Linked DNA regions of Homo sapiens: region 1 is linked to region 2. Evidence: promoter capture Hi-C in 16 types of primary human blood cells and fetal thymus (Javierre and others, 2016). All regions are on one chromosome and are shown on one strand. The core of a region is centred on a gene start or on the middle of the fragment in contact, and the rest is flanking DNA. Distances in the headings are between cores, read along the strand shown. Region 1 has its middle 67 kb from the start of TRDN. Region 2 holds the start of TRDN-AS1 (TRDN antisense RNA 1).

Evidence for each region. Contacts are between HindIII fragments. The CHiCAGO score rates a contact against its expected background, and 5 or more counts as called.
Region 1: a contact is called between a fragment that was not itself captured here and the fragment with the promoter of TRDN-AS1 in region 2, in 1 of 17 cell types (megakaryocytes). The highest score is 6.4, in megakaryocytes.

What each region holds. Positions count from the first base shown.
Region 1 is chr6:123,701,517-123,706,716 of GRCh38, forward strand. No RefSeq gene overlaps it. Among named protein-coding and RNA genes, the nearest start is that of TRDN, 67 kb to the left of the region's middle. The HindIII fragment of the contact is 4,492 bases long and covers 1,088-5,200 here.
Region 2 is chr6:123,436,143-123,441,050 of GRCh38, forward strand. It overlaps TRDN-AS1 (TRDN antisense RNA 1), which reads left to right and starts at 3,462. Exons shown (of 3, transcript NR_110844.1): 1 at 3,462-3,635. It overlaps TRDN (triadin), which reads right to left. Exons shown (of 41, transcript NM_006073.4): 11 at 2,802-2,861; 12 at 1,921-1,980. The HindIII fragment of the contact is 3,987 bases long and covers 588-4,574 here.

The sequences.
Region 1 (5,200 bases), core at 2,084-4,583, 270 kb after region 2:
GCTGTTAGCTACTAAATGTTTAATGAAGAAAGAAGTATTTCCTAGTTGGAATTTGTGTTATGCAGGTCAAGTATTTGTCAAAATTTTCCTGAAATGGAACACTTATGATCTGAGTATTTCCTTGTATGTAAATTTTACCTCAAAAGAAGAAATTAGGGCAATAAAGAAATATTAAACTTTAGTTAATGATATGCATGCTGAGATGTTACATCTGTAAATAACTTTGAAATGAATCCAAAGATAAGGTGAATTGTTGGATGGACAGAGAGACAAGTGTGTGGCAAATCCAGTGTAGTAAATATTAATTTTAGTATCTTATTGGTAGAAATTTACATTCAAACTTTGTTATGCTTAAATTTTGTAAGGAAAAAAGCCCCGGCCCTATTAAGGTTGGGAGCTCAGGGGAGTTATAATAAAATGTAGCGTAATAAAATATAATATACTGGGCAGGCATGGTGGCTCATGCCTGTAATCCCAGCACTTTGGGAGGCCAAGACCAGAGGATCACTTGAGCCCAGGTGATTAAGACCAGCCTGGACAACATAGCAAGACTCTATCTCTACAAAAGATATAAATAAATAGCTGGGCATGGTGGCATGTGCTGGTAGTCCCAGCTACTCAGGAGATTGAGGCAGGAGGATCACTGGAGCCCAGAAGGTTAAACCTACAGTGAGCCACGATTGCGCCTCTACACTCCAGCCTGGGTAACAGAGACCTTGTCTCAAAAAAATAAAATTGAAAAACAGACTGAATTCAGATACCAAGTAATTAGTAGGCAAAAGAAGTTATCATAAGATTAATGCGAAACTCAGATTCCAACATGAAGTCTGGGTTTAAAGCCAATAAAGGCAAAGGCAAGAGTAGTCCACAGTCCACAGAAATACTCATTACTGTCATTACTTTTTTGGGTTTTTTTGGCTTTAGACTTTCTTAGACCTTGGCCCTGCGAGTATGTCTTTGTCAATTTTGAATGCAAGGTCTTTTAAACCCAGCATTTCATAAACATACTTGCACAGAATTTACTTAATTAACATATATTTTCTGATTGTATATAATGCATTAAGACATGCAATCATGCTTCATAATAAGCTTCCAGTTGGAAAAGACTCAATCACACTCTATCCTTAAAAGAAATCATTTCAATTGGGTAATAAGTGCTCACAATAAGCAGTTTTCCATGATTACAAAAAAAAAAGTTATGATTGGGTAAATATGCTTACTATAGCAACCTCTCTGTAGCAGTGACAAAAATTTTCTTCACTTTTTATTCATAATATACACAATTTTTAGCTTTCTACACTTTTATTTGGTTATAAGTCCTTGTCCAAATAGAGAAGGACCTGTATAACTCACAACGTGAACAATAAAGGGCAGAATAAGAATTGTGTCTAAGAATGAGCAAATCTATTCCCCTTAAGTATCTTCTAGCTATTAAAAAGCTCTAATATCTTTTGGATTTAATACAATTTTTAATACACTTGGAAGTGATTATAACATGAATTTTTCCAGGGGATAAATTCATGTTATATTCATATCATCATGCCAATTCTTTGCCTGGAATTGAGTTGATTTTCAGTCCACGTGGTTAAATGAATGACTGGTTGTCTTAGTCCATTTGTACTATAACACAATACCTGAGACGGAGTAATTCATAAATAATAGAAACTTACTTTTGCAATTCTGGACACTGAGAAGTCCAAGATTGAGGCACCAGCAGGTTCGGTGTCTATGGAGTGTCTGGTCTCTCTGCTTCCAAGATGGCCTTTTGTTGCTGAGTCCTCTAGAGGGGAGGAAAGCTGTGTCTTTACATAGCAGAAGGTAGAAGAGAAAAGGGGCTTTGCTATTTCCCTCCAGCCCTTTCATAAGGGCAGTAATCCCATACATGAGGGTTCTTCCCTCATGATTTGATCACTTCTTGAAGGCCCTACCCTTTACTTCTATGGCAATGGGGTTTAAGTTCAACCTATAAATTTTGGAGGGACACATACATTGAAATTGACATAAGTAGTAAACACAAACATTTGAAAGAAGTACTTGTGTTTCCACATAGTGGAAGCATTTGAAAGAAGGAGCAGACTCCAAATTGCGGGAGGAATAATGCTGAGATTAATAGACAAATATATTAGTTAATATAAAAAAAGAGAAGTATGTATTAACATGTCTATGGGAAGGCAGGAAGGGAGACAACTAAAACTGAGCAATGTTTAGCTTATTACTAGAACTACTGTTAAAGATTTCAAGGGGGGGTGTTCGATTTCAACATGTCAGTACAGGTTGAGCGTCCCTAATGTGAAAATCCAAAATGGTCCAAAATCCAAAAGTTTTTGAGTGCCCACATGATGCCAGAAGTGGAAAATTGCTCACATAAGCACTTAACATGAATTTTATTTCAGGCACAAAATTACTTAAAATATTACATAAAATTACCTTTAGGCTAGATGTATATGAAATGTAAACAAGTTTTGGATTTAGATTTGGGTCCTGTCCCCAAGTTATTTTATTACATATCTGCAAATATTCCAAAATCAAAAAAACTGGAATTCCAAAACAATTCTCGTTCCAAGCATTTCAGGTAAGGGATTTTCAACTTGTATCTCTTTTTTCCCCACCAAATGCTGTTACCTACTTCTTCCTCCCAACATCACATTGAAATGAACAAAGGAAATGAGCAAAGTCTTACGATAGTTATCTGCAGGAACAGCAAAAACTGGAAAGGTCTCTTCCCCAGGCCTGAAAATGTGATTAACTCCTGACAGATATGAGGCTTGTGAGCCTTGTAAGGTAAGATTGTTGTGCTGTCAGCTCATTATGCAACACAAGTAAAAAGCTACCCAGTGAAAAAGTAGGCAGGTTTCACCTAGTAAGCATCTGTGTCAGGGTCCTTCTTGAAGCAAGCTATGAGACAAAATTGGGAGACCCAAGCTAGGGGAGGGGAGCCATCAGATCACAATTTAATCTGACCCTGAGTGAAGGAGAAAGGAAAGGAAGGAAGCAGGATTCACTGAAGTTCAGAGGAAACTTCAGCAAGACCATTGGAAAGACAAAATTGCTGTCAGAAGGGACATGATTCTCCCAGGACCTGGCCTGCCTTTAAATCCCTGCCACACTCACTCATTGGTGAGAGCAGTCTATGGGAAATGTGGCATCCACTAATTAACATGTGGCAACAATGTCCGATCACAGCAACTGGGGGTCTCAGAGAATTCTGCTCCTCATGGTCCGAGACCTGAGAGGTACAGCCTCATGGCCACAGCATCCACCTCCCCTATTCTGATATAAGACACACTCCTCTATCGATCCCATGGGCCTCTCTTTCTAAGAGAAATTGCAAATAGGCAAGGCAGAGGGTGTAGGATGACCTATATAGTCCCAGTTGCTGTAGCTCATTTGGGGGTTGCCATTGTTTCTTATCTCTCCTTCTTCCACTATTTGTTTCAAATCCCCCCTCATTTGTCATTGGCTCTCACATTGGCAGGTAATGGTGCTTACATGGTGATATGACCCAAACCTTCATTTCAAAGGGCGTTAAACTCTTGACAATCACACACTTCTTAGATTAGGGTTGCTGCACATGTTTATTCACAGTTACGATGGACCAAGGGAGCAGCAAGAGGTGCCCAGTGGATCACCTGGGTTCTATACATATGCTTCCCTGACGCCACTGTGTAAGAGCAACCCTACCTCTTCCTAGGGATCAGCATCAATTTTGCATGCTGGTATGGCAACTCCTCTTCTTACCTGCTGGTCTGTGGGAACAAGGAGTCCAAAGGGCCCTGGCAGCAGCCATAACATGTACGTCAATGGTACCCTTCTAATGGCACAGCATCTCTCTAGTCAGGATCTATTGCTTCTTGCTAGATGAGGCAACAGTTTCTGATGCAATAACAAGTATTACTTTTGTAATATGTTTTTGACAACTTTTTGATTTGAATCTTAGTGCCATGAAATCACTTTGGAGTGAACTATAACTGTTTCCTCCTCCCAATGCACACTCAGATTGTTGTAAGAAGCAAACGAAATAATACATGTAAAAGAGATTAATGGAAAACTTGGAAAAAGGTGGGATCAGATAAATATTGAATCTTTATCCAAATCTTATCCAATGATAAGTGATAAGCTATACATTTTAAACACTATTTTTGAAGCATCAGTTATTAATTTAACACACAATAATGGGGGACCAGTTTGTGCCATGCATAGCACTAAGCATGGGCATGAATTAGATGGGGTTTAACACATTTGGAGCTGACCCTATGTTCTTTTGCTCCTCTTTTAAACTCAGCCCATAAAACATGTCACAGTGGCTCCTTTCTTACACAAATAACTTAAACATTACCACTTAACATTTAAACTTATTGGTACTGAAATGACAGCATTAGTTCTTTTTTCAGGGAAAATTACAAAAACAGTGCATTATCTCGTCATTTTAATATATTACTTGTAGCTTAGTAAGTAGCACCCTTTTCAACTAGTTCTTAATAGGTGTACATACGTATTGTCATTTTTTTGCCTTAAATTTGCATCTAGGTATTACTCATATTTTGATATCTAGTAAAGCAAACAGGTATTCATCTTCCTGACACTTTCTGTACAAATCTGGGGTGTTTTTACAGTATTTGGTTTCTATGGCTGATTAAAACTGTTCATGATATAGCCTCTGTGGTTTACACTACCTGACATTCATTAGCATGTAGAATTTGTTTTAAAAAATAGTGAATAATGCATCTCAATGAAAAATCGGTACTGTCAGTAGGAACACCAAATTTTCCTTTCCTAGAGGCAGAAAAACATTATATTCTTTCTTTGGTGTCTTCTTTTGTTCTGTCACAATGTCTTGAATATTTTGTTCTGAGTACTGTTCCTACCATGGTGTTCTGTACAATCACAGTCCAGGCTCTATGCTTCTCAAAAATATCAGCTTTGTAGCAATGTTTAGTTTACTGAAAAAAATAGACTAGTTGGGCAATGAAAATTTTCCTTTAAACAATGAAATATATGTTGAAGAAAAAAATAGTCAAAATCTTAAATCTTTATAATAAAAAAGTGAGCCAAGTAAAGAGAGTCAGGGGAAGAAATATAAAAGAATGAGCAAGGGAACAAACAATAAGAGAATCAAGAATGTAATTATCACGAGATATACAATGTTGGGAACATTGTTCAAAGAATTTTGATTCCACATTATAGTTCAAACTTAGCATAT
Region 2 (4,908 bases), core at 2,212-4,711:
TTGATGGCAAGGAAGAAGTATCTTGGTTTATCTTTACCCCTCAATCATGTAATTTTCACAAATCCACTGCTCTAAGCAAGCAGTTTCTCAGATTCATAGAGTCAGAACTGTTTTTCCCTTCTTATGATAAAATACATATTTCATCAGAAAATAAGAAAGTTTTAAAAGAAAATGAGTGAATATTTAATAGAACAATAGACTACAATAATACAGCCTTAATAATGGAAATTTGGATGCAAAGGAATGGGCAATCAACTCTTGGACACACAGAATGTCTGGCTGATCCTTCTTGCTCATTTCATGGGCCACATAATCATGCAATTCTTAATATTTTACATTTTTTCTACCCCATTTATAGCATGATGCCAGATATTTCTACGCATTTCTATTTGCTGCTTGCTAATCATAATCTTTATATAGTTGACATCCTATGTATGCTCTTCTTTTTAGGGTCCTCACCACCATCATTTTTTCCACATACATTATTACTACTTAGAAAAGGAAAGATTTTCACTAAAATGCCGTCTAACCCAGCCTGCCCTCCCCAGACGGTTCCCCACCCTGAAGTTTTCAATCTTCTTCGTTTAAGCTTACCTACCACCTCATGTTCTGGGGTACAATTTTTAGCTTACTATTACACAGGAAAGATCTGGAAATCTCATTTACTTTAAGTTCTTAATAGCTGAGAGGAATTAGGTTTTTACCCCATATACACAAGCCCTAGAAGATCTGCATTTTAATAGGGGACGATTCCTTCATAACTCAAAGGAATGGAATGGTTCTAATGGTAGAATTTTAAGCATCACTGACATCAGTGGAGGAAATCTTTCAGGTGAGAATGCTTATCACCAAACCATAATACTTGAGATGATTGTCTTTTCCATGTAAACTTAAGCCTAACCTGAATCGAAGCCAATATTCATGTTTGAACAAGAATAGAAACAGAACAAAATTTAAAGCAAAAATCGAAACTGTCAAATAGTTGAATAACCTTATTTCTTAATAGGGTGCATTATTCTTTCTCAGCTTCTTATCTTTGCAATGTGGTATTGTTATTACTATGTATCTCTTCTCAAGTTCATTGTATCTTGACCAAGGTGGTCCTCACCTTGATTAAACTTTAATAGGTTTCTTTCTGACCTTCAGCAGCTCCTAATCTCCCTTTTCTTAGAGCATTTACTTCAGAAAACTGGAAAACTTGTCACTGTAAATTCTTTCTCTACTTTATTGAGATACAGATTTTTTTTTTTTTTTTTTTTTTTTTTTGTAGGGGGATGAGGAGACAGGGTCTTCCTCTGCTACCCAGGCTGGAGTGCAGTAGTGCAATTATGGTGCTCACTACAGCCTCAACCTCCTGGGCTCAAGCAATGCTCCTGTCTTGGCCACTCTAGTAGCTGGGACATTTACAAGCCACTTTTCAGTTTCACAACCCATAAAGCCTTTCTCAAGGAACTGAGAGCCATCCCTTTGAAATGTAATCATCAAGAAAGATAGTGCCCCATCTCTAAGTTTCTGTGGAAGAGTAGGAGCCTAACTTCCTTGGACTCCTCGCTCCACATTGTGAAACTACTTCTTACCATGCAGATATAAGACTGAAAGTTTACGTTTTGAGGGGGAAAAGCCAATATGCAAAAACAGATGTCCTGTGATTCCCCATACCAGCCATTACAAACATTCCTGCGTTTTTTTGGGGGGGAATTGAGTTCAGACTCAATTCCAGTCTCTCTGTCCTATTGCAATAGCCTTGAATAAAGTCTTCTTTGCCTGTTTAACTTTGTCTAGTGCAAGTTTTGCTTTGACCTTCACGTCTTGGGTAGATATAAGTAACTGTGTGCAATTTGTGTATGTTGCATGAGGAGTCTTTCATGAAGCAAACATCCTGAACGTAATCCATCTAAGGAAACAAAGAAAGTGCAATACCTTTTTTTTCCACATCAATGGCAGTTTCCTTCTCACTTTTCTTTTTGATATCTTCTTTTTCTGCTGGTAAAATAAGAAAGTTATAAGCCTTTACCTGTTTAACTTGCAAATATTTCAGGGCATGCATGACTACCAGTGAGGCATCTAATTTATCTTGTATAGAGAAATCTTAAATCAGCCATAAGTCATGTCAAATATGAATAAGGTAGCACCTTCATAACAGACTAGTGGCTTAGGTATAATTTCTCTTCAGGAAACAGAACTTTTTTTTTTTTGCCAAAGGCAAAAATTATTTAATAACAGTGAAAACATTAAATGGCATTATTAATTATGGTATTATTTAACAGCTTTCCTAACATATATTGAAAAGAATATATTGAATGTTCTCTGAGCTATGAGGTCACCAGAACCATGTCAAAAGTTCTGAAATCTCTGAAGTTCACTTGGGACATCAGATAAATTATTTGAAAACAACCAATTAAAATATATATATATGTGTAAAACAAACCAATCAAGTATTTTCTGCCCTCTACATAAAATGACTTTTAAAATTAGACTGAATTAGTTAAATAGTAACCATCATATTCACATATATAGTTAAAGTAAAGTAGTGAATTAGAGAGAATTAAGCAGCTGCTCTTAAGAAAGAAAAAATAATCACAGTAGTAATTTTCAAAAAGTGTTTAGGATTGAATTCTCTTTTTAAAAATTGACAATTTTAATTTTATTTGGAATATCTAGACATGTTAAGAGTGTTCACTAATAACAATGACAATGCATTTATTAAGGGAATTTCTTTCCTAGAAAATAATAGATTTACCAGTAGTATTATGCATGGACACTAATTGATTTATGTGGTACATGGCTTTTAAATTTCCTACCTTTCTTTTTTGTTTCAGAAGTAACTTTCTTCTCAGCCTTCTTCTTTTCCCCTTCTTTTTCTAGAGAATACATTTAAAATATTTCCTTTAGGGAAATTTAGTATGAAAGCAAAACCAAGGTTGAAATGAAGGATTTTTGTTAAGTCAGTTCTGCCTCCAGCTAGCTTTGTGACTGAGCAAGTAATTTAATCCCACTAAGTCTTATTTTCCTCATTTATCAAATAATAATACCTCCCTCAAAGTTAATGTTTACAAAACACTGTGTAAAGTGCCTGGCTCACAGTAAATGTGTAACGTTGTAGACTGCTAATACTGTTTACAAATAATGAATGTGATAGTTTGAACTTTCTGAACCAAACAATTGTTTATCTAGTGCCTAAAAGTATTGATATATAAAATTAAAATATATTTCTTGGAAAATATACTGCAGATAAACTAGAAGAATTAATATTTGTTTTCTTTTATACATTTAATTTCATTAGAAATAATATATTAGACCATTAAAAAGGTATCTTTTGATGTAGCTGTTTTTCATATCTGGCTCTTGCCAACAGGCATTTAAGCCTGATGACAAGTGTCTGGCAGTGTGTTGGAAACATAACTTCCACGGTCCTTTCTGAGTGGTTGTATCAACAAAGCTGTTCAATCTTTGCACCCAGAGGTTGCAGTAAGTCTGGATGCCACATCAAACTGTTTGTGGTACTTCTAAACTTCGTGGAAGAGCCCTGTTTCATAAATCTGAGACAGCCTTGGTCTGAGGGAGCAAAGACAGAGAATTCACGTGCTGCCCAGGCATAGCCACATAGCAGGTGGACATCCCTGGACACTTTTCTGGTAAGCATAATCATTTTAGATAACAAAGTCCTGTACTAATACATAGTTGTTGAAATTGAATGTTCAGTGGTTTTAGATTTGGGACAATAATAGCTACGGTTAATGTTGTAAATGTACTGATTTTTATCTTCAATTAGCAGTGCTATTTACCTTATATTTGAAATTCCTTTCTCTTTGTCAGTTGTCTCTCATCTCAGGTACAGGTACATTCAAAGACTTCCGTTACCCAGAACTATTATAAGATCATTATTATGCTAAAGAAATTCAATATGTAGTTCTAGAATGAATCCTTAAGTTGTCTACTAATGACTGCATCTTATTAAATAGAGGAATTAACTCATTCCCATAGGTATAGAGCTTTTTTACCTACAAGATCAAAGACAACACTTTCTTTCAATGTTAGACATATAATTTATAAAGAACCCCTTTCATGATTTCTAGAGATAATCTAATGTCTCAGGGAAAAATGTATTCACACTTTGTCTAAAAGTGTCTACAGCATACTATTACAGCTCATCCAATCAGAAGTAGAAAGTCAAGAAGTCAAATTTTGATAGTTTCAGAGATAGAAATAAACCAATTGATTTCCACTTCTTCTTTTCTAAAGGTTTATGCATATTAAACATGTAGATCATATTTAAAATTCTGAATGAAGATACTTTCAAGTATCACTACTTTCAGCTTCTCTGGGAGAAATTTTATGTAGTAGTGAATTTTACATCTTCTCTAAATAAATGTATATGCCAGACAATTGAATAGCCATTTGCTAAGCATCACCTCTGATGTCATGTATCAGCAAAGGGGTTAATTAAAATACAAATGACTTGTAAATATTTCTAAGCTCAAGCTAAACACTAATGCCATACTAACCATAAGATCAGAACTCAGTATCCAAGTCTCCAAGTTTCATAAGGTTGATGAATAAATATTTCATTAAAAAGCTTGTGCCAATTAGTCAATCTTACACCGAACTTCACAAAGAAAGTAGATATTTGAACCCAGAATATGGAAGGCATTCATTTATTTTTCAATTTTCTTTTAGACAATGCTCTTGTGCAACAAATTCTACCCTTCAAATTAATATAGCTGGAATTTTATTGTGGTGATACAGTATTCTTGTCTTCGTCCAAATTGAATTAATGCTCCTATTATACACTCTGCTTGTGATTACAGTCATACACTGTGAGAGTCATGAATAAGAGCAGAAGTCCACAAAATGCAGATTAATGTCCTTTAATAACATTTTTATGAATTAGACCTTTAAGCTGTCATT